Linked DNA regions of Homo sapiens: region 1 is linked to region 2. The links are contacts of gene promoters, found by promoter capture Hi-C in blood cells and fetal thymus (Javierre and others, 2016). All regions are on one chromosome and are shown on one strand. Each heading gives the region's core, a stretch centred on a gene start or on the middle of the fragment in contact. The rest is flanking DNA. Distances are from core to core; before and after follow the strand shown. Region 1 has its middle 47 kb from the start of NKD1. Region 2 holds the start of NKD1-AS1 (NKD1 antisense RNA 1).

What was found. Contacts are between HindIII fragments. The CHiCAGO score rates a contact against its expected background, and 5 or more counts as called.
Region 1: a contact is called between a fragment that was not itself captured here and the fragment with the promoter of NKD1-AS1 in region 2, in 5 of 17 cell types (total CD8 T cells, non-activated CD4 T cells, naive CD8 T cells and 2 more). The highest score is 7.1, in total CD8 T cells.

The regions. Positions count from the first base shown.
Region 1 is chr16:50,499,623-50,502,640 of GRCh38, reverse strand. No RefSeq gene overlaps it. Among named protein-coding and RNA genes, the nearest start is that of NKD1, 47 kb to the left of the region's middle. The HindIII fragment of the contact is 3,556 bases long and covers 1-3,018 here.
Region 2 is chr16:50,612,003-50,615,106 of GRCh38, reverse strand. It overlaps NKD1-AS1 (NKD1 antisense RNA 1), which reads left to right and starts at 1,457. Exons shown (of 3, transcript XR_007065197.1): 1 at 1,457-1,516. The region is part of intron 4 of NKD1 (NKD inhibitor of Wnt signaling pathway 1); the gene reads right to left. The HindIII fragment of the contact is 2,641 bases long and covers 451-3,091 here.

The sequences.
Region 1 (3,018 bases), core at 137-2,636, 110 kb after region 2:
AGTTTAATGATGGGGGTATTTATGCGGGCAGGGAACCAGAAGGGGAGGTGGGGCATCCGGGGAACTAGCACCATGGGAAGCCCTTACAGCCACTAGACCCGAAAGACAAGGGGACCAAGCAGTGATCAGAGCCCAGAGAGGGTGATGGGTGAGAGGTCCACTTGATAAGAGCTGTGGCTTTTCAGGGGAGAAAGACTGCACCCACCAAAGTGTGGCCTGGCAGGGAGAGGACTAGAAAATGTATGGCTCCACTGCTCTCTCCTACCTCCTTCCCATCTCCCAGCGGTGCCTCCTATTGGCCAAACCCAAGCAAAAGCCGGAGGACAAGGAAGATGAAAGTCAAACAAGCAGCTTCCATGAGCCCTGTATGCAGACAGCACTGGCCCAGTGCTGGGGAGTTGCTGGCCCTTCTCCTCCAGGTCAGCCTGGTGTGTCTCTGCAAGTCTGGAGCAGCAGGGAGGGAGTAGGGGTAGTGATACTTCCACTGCACTTTGGTCTTCAAAAGTGTCCTATTTTCTGAAAGATGCAGGTTAAGGGACTGAGCTGTCTCTGGCATGGAGCAGGGTCTGGAGGGACAAAGAGAGAGCAGCCAGCATCCCACGCATCATGCAACACCCCCCTGCAGCATGCCACATCTGTACCATCCCCAGCTTGTGCACATCCAGGGATGCAAAACTCACCCACACTTCCACCTGCAAGCAGCCTATCCAAGTGTGAAGATTCCATATCTCAGTTCCTGGCAAAATCAAGTTCTGGGATTGGGGAACAGGTCACATCCATACTAGGGAGCAAGTGCTATTTGAATGTCAGGAGGGTGAGACTGGGAGCTACTGGGCAGGCCTGCTGCATTGCTTGGCAGGGGTGGGGTAGTAAACGCAAAGCGAAACCTATCTCCCATTTGTTCACCTTCTCTTGATCTTGATTTTTCTGCCATCTTATCAGAATCCTAATAGACACCATGAACATATATTACCTATCACCTTTAGGGAAAATGGGACACTTTTAGAGACCGAAGTGCAGTGGGGGTGTAACTACTCCTACTCACTTCCTGCTGCTCCAGGCTTACAAAGACAGACCAGGCTGGCCTAGAGGAGAGGGGACAGCAACTCCCCAGCACTGGGCCAGCGCTGCCTGCACACAGGGCTCATGGCAGCTGCTTGCTGACTTTGTGCCCATAGACCTCCCTTTCTCTGTCAGTCCCAGAGGCAGCAGTGGAGGGGACTGGTGTTGGGGGAAACAGGGCATCAGGAGACCCAGGTCCTCATCTGCTTCTGCCACTTTCTGGCTGTGTAGCTCTGGGCAAAACCTGCCCTGCCCTGGGTCTCAACTTCCCAACTTAGAAGGAAAAGGGACTTTGTTCCTGATCTTGGCCAGCCTACATGGAAGAAGAGACCCTTCTCTCCACCTGCAGAATCCTTTCCTTCCTCCTCAACTTTCTTCTCTCCAAAAGGTGCAAATGAGGCTGGGCACGGTGGCCCACACCTGTAATCCCAGCGCTTTGGGAGGCTAAGATGGGAGGATCATTTGAGCACAGGAGTTTGAAACCAGCCTGGGTAACAGCAAGGCCCCACCCCCCTACAAAAAATGTTTAAAAATTAGGGCTGGGCGCGGTGGCCCACACCTGTAATCCCAGCACTTTGGGAGGCCAAGGCGGGAGGATTGCCTGAGCTCAGGATTTTGAGATCACCCTGGGTAACAAGGGTGAAACCCTGTCTCTACTAAAATACAAAAAATTAGCTTGGCACGGTGGTGCGCGCCTGTAGTCCCAGCTACTGGGGAGGCTGAGGCACGATAATTGTTTGTGCCTGGGAGGCGAAGGTTGCAGCGAGCTGAGATTGTGCCACTGCACTCCAGCTTGGGCCACAGAGTGAGACTATGTCTCAAAAAAAAAAAAAAATTTAGCCAGGCTTGGTGGTGTGCACCAGTAGTCCTAGTTACTAGGGAGGCTGAAGTGGGAGAATCACTTGAGCCTGGGAGGTCGAGGTTGCAATAAGCCATGCATGATTGCACCACTGCACTCCAGCTTGGGCAACAGAGCAAGACCCAGTCTCAAAAAAACAAAACCAAAACAAATAAATAAATAAATGGTGCAAATATTTGCTTCCACCCTGAAAAGTTAAATCCTGCTTTTTATCTGTGAGTACCCTGGAGTTTTGCAGGGCCTCTCGAATATTATCACATTTGGTGCTTTGCAAACAACTCCCTCTGCTTTGCCTGTTCAGCTACAGCATGAGCAGAAAGGACGAGAGAGGACCCAGGCATCCCTGACCCCCTCCTTAAGCCAGAGACTGTGACTGTCCCACTCCCTCTGCCCCGCCCTTCCACCCTCCCTCCCTGGGTTGTCACTGCATGACTTTGGCAGGGTAGTTTTCCTCTCTGAGCCTCAATTTTCTCATTGGTTAAATTGGGGTGCTAATAATAACCACCTCAGTGATGACACATGAAGCATTTAGCATGATGTCTGGCACACAGTAAACATTCAATGGACGGGAGAGGTTGTCATTGTTTTTTCTGTCCACAAGGAACCCTGGAGGTACCCGCCTCATGTTCTATCCTCCTTGGAGGCTTGGGGCAGTTGGCCATTCTCTGAAAAGCCAGCCTGTTCTGACACTTGCCTGTCAAGTCATTGATTAGGCCTCCATCACTGTATTCCCTGTCTTCCCTTCCCTAGGGTTCCAGAAGGAAAATGCTGCCGAGGGTACTGTGGAAATGAGGCTGAAAAAGCCTTCTGTATGATGCAAAGGATGGCATGCTTCTAAGGAATAAAGGAAAATATGTTGATCTTTTCATCTATACATGCTTGTCACCTCAAATAGGTTCTAAACTCTTTGGGGGTGGAAAATAAAGGCAGGAAACTAATGTTGATTAAACACTGTGGTTGACGTTACAATGCTCTGCAACATCAGGCTCAGTTTTCCTTCCTGGACATACAGAAAACTATATATCCCAGTACCCTTGCTGTGAGGTGGAACCATGGGCTAGTCTTGGCTAGTTAACTGAGAGCAGAAATGTTCTGGC
Region 2 (3,104 bases), core at 208-2,707:
TGGCTTTCCTCCCCAGAGCTACTCATCCCCCACTCTCAGTCTATCTAGTTTATGGAGACTGATCCCACTCCAGGGTCACACTGCACTCAGTACCCCTACCTGACCCAGCTTGTTTCATCCTGAAGGCCACGTGGCTGGTCCTAGGTCAGTATGAAAGAAGAGTTTATGAAGAAGCTAATGAAGCTAGGCTTCTGGGCCCTCTCACCTACACGGGCCCTTTCCAAGTCAGGATGGGTCTTTGCAAGGTGTTTATGTGGTCATATGTGTTTGTATTTGTAACATTTTCCAAATTAGGCATTTTATCCTCAATCTATTAAGATTGTCATCTAACCATTCTGACATCCTTTGCCTGTGTGAGGTGATACTAGGGGAAATACAGGCATTTCTGGACATGAGCTAAGGAGAGACTGAGTTGGTGAGATATTTATTTTGGTTTGGCCCCAGAAAGCTTCAGGTCCCATAAAACCTAGATCTACCCTGGTCAAGTGACCAGTAAAGTGGTCAATAAAGTGAGTCCAACATGTGCAAGAACCCCTGTGACCTGGGAACTTTCTTCCACCTGACAGGGCTGTGCTCATAGGATGGGAGTGCCCAGAGCTGGGAACTGCCACCCTTGCCCCCTGTGGGGGAGAAGCCACCAGGGGACAGAGGGAGAGATGATGGAGAGGGAGAGAGAGGGGCAGCGAGCGAGACATGTGTGTGAATGTGTGAGTATACGTGTGTGTGTGAGTGTGTGTGTGTGCGTGCATGTGTCCATGACATGGTTTTAGCTCCAGAATCCAAACAGGCCTTTTTAGGCAAGATCTACCCTAGGATTTTTCAATTTCATGAGCCAAAAGTTTAAGTGAGTTTCCAAAAGAACCGAAAGAATCCTGACTTAACAAATCCGTCTCTCTGAGATCCTGCTTTTTAGGAAAAACCACCAGCACCAGCACCACAGCAGTAATTCACTCACCCAGGGCAGTCCCTCTAGGGTGATTTCCAGCTTTTTCACCTGTGGGTGTCTGCCCCTTCCTGAGACCAGAAATGCCACCAGGGACTTCTTCTCCACCATCCTGCCTCCCAGCTGCATTTTACTGCCACTAGATTTTGCTTATGGACCAATTGTAACTGAGGGGAAACAAAAAAGGGGGAAAAGCGGGTAGGGGAGGAAATCCTTCTCAACAAATAACATTCTGGCCTTTTTTTCCTCATCAGAGCATAAGGCTGGTGGCCACTCGGCTTTGACATCTGAACAGGATTGAGACGAAACATCTGTTCAGGGAGGGAGGGGGAAGCCCCGGGAGAGAAGGGGAAAGGGGAGAAAAAGCCTTCTGTGGGCTAAAAATATCACGTCCCTTCCACTCTCCCCCGCCCGCCCCCACCCAAGTTAAAACATGTGATGAAATTCGGCTTTTACAATCTAACCCCGAGCTACTTGAAACTATTAAAGCCTCTCCGGTATCTGACACAAGTCAGAATTTCCACTGTTCCAGCTGAGCTTTTATGAGGAGCAGACTTGAGAGAAACTGCCAAGGTAACAAAGTCCGCTTGTTCTCTGTCACCGCTGCAACTCAGCTTCTGGGGGGACTGTAGGGGAGTGGAGAGTCAGGGCCGCTGACACCCCCCGACAGGACAGGCTCTGAACTGAGGGAGAGGAGCCGGCGGGGCATGGGCACCTGCCCCTCCATCTGGGGGTCCCTGCTGCCTTCCCATGAACTCCTCTTCCTCCCAGCCTTCCTGGGAAGCCACCGCCAGCCCTGTGTATTGAGGAGCCTTGCCCGAGAGTCCCGGGCAATGTCCGTGGCTACTTCCTGAGAAGTCTTGACTCGCTCTCTCTCTCTGTTTCTTGCCCAACTGCTCCTTGAACCCCAAGCTCCAATCACCAGGTATCCCACGGCCTCCTCGGTACCTCTCCTTGGATGTTAAATGGGCATCTTGAACCCAACTGGTCCAAAAACGGGAGGCTTGATGGTCACCCGCCAAAACCTCCACCTCAGAAGTGACACCGCCAAATCCTTAGTTCCTGAAACCAAAAGTCTAAGATGCATCCCTGATCTCTCTCGTTCCCTCAACCCCCTTCTCACCAGCTCCAACCTCCAGCCCCATGGACCTCTCCCCAGCCCCAAGCTCCCAGGCTAGGCCAGCACCATCTCCTCTCGCCTGCGACCCTGCAGTCACCTCCTGGTTTCATTGCCCTCTTCCTCCCTGCCCATGGGCAGTCCCTCCCAGAAGCCAGAATTAACTTCTTAAAACAGAGGTCAGAATCCAGCAGTCACCCACCCAACCATCTGGGCAGAACCACGCAACCTAAGGGCGTGGTCCCACACTTGCCGACCACCCCACTCTCATTCCTGATGCCACATCGGCCTCCTTTTTGTTCTTCCCCAAACACCAAGTTCCCTCCACTCTGGGGTTCTGCTCACTCATAGCTGCTCTCCCCCTACATTCTTCCATGGCTGGCTCCTTCCTGGCATCTGCATCTCAGCTGAAACATCACCTTCTCAGAAAAGCCTCCTCACTCTACCTCTCCCTGGGTTTTACGTCTTAGCAGAGAACCACTACTAGAAACTTCCATGCTCCTTCGCAGATTTATGTATTCATCCCTGCCTCCCTCCTGTGAATGTCGTGACTGCTGGGCCTGCCTACCTTGCTCGTGCCTGTGAACCCAGGGCCCAGCAGAGCCCCTAGCTGCAGCAAATGCCCAGCACATACTGAATGGTGAGGAGTGAGGGGCCAGATTCTGTTCTCAGTCTGCTGTGTGACCCTGGACAGGTCACTTCCCTCTCTGGGCTTCAGTTTTCCAACTACAGATGAAAGGAAGTACAGGCCTCCCAAGTTCCTTTGCCCAACATCTGACCCCTGGGAGCCTGGACAGACTGGCCCAGGCCCCAACACAGGTACACAGGTCCTGCCTGAGAGGCCGGAGGGAGGGGTCACCTGCTTTCAGTGAGGCAGAGGGAGAGGTCACCTGCTTTCAGTGACTACAGGGTATTGACTTTCCTTCTTCAGTGAGTGTTTATTTATTGAGCACATACAGCATGCCAGACCCTACTCCAGGCACCAGGAGTACGGGGAGGCCTTTGGAGATTCTAACAGGATTAAAGAAGCTTTGCAAAGAGGTC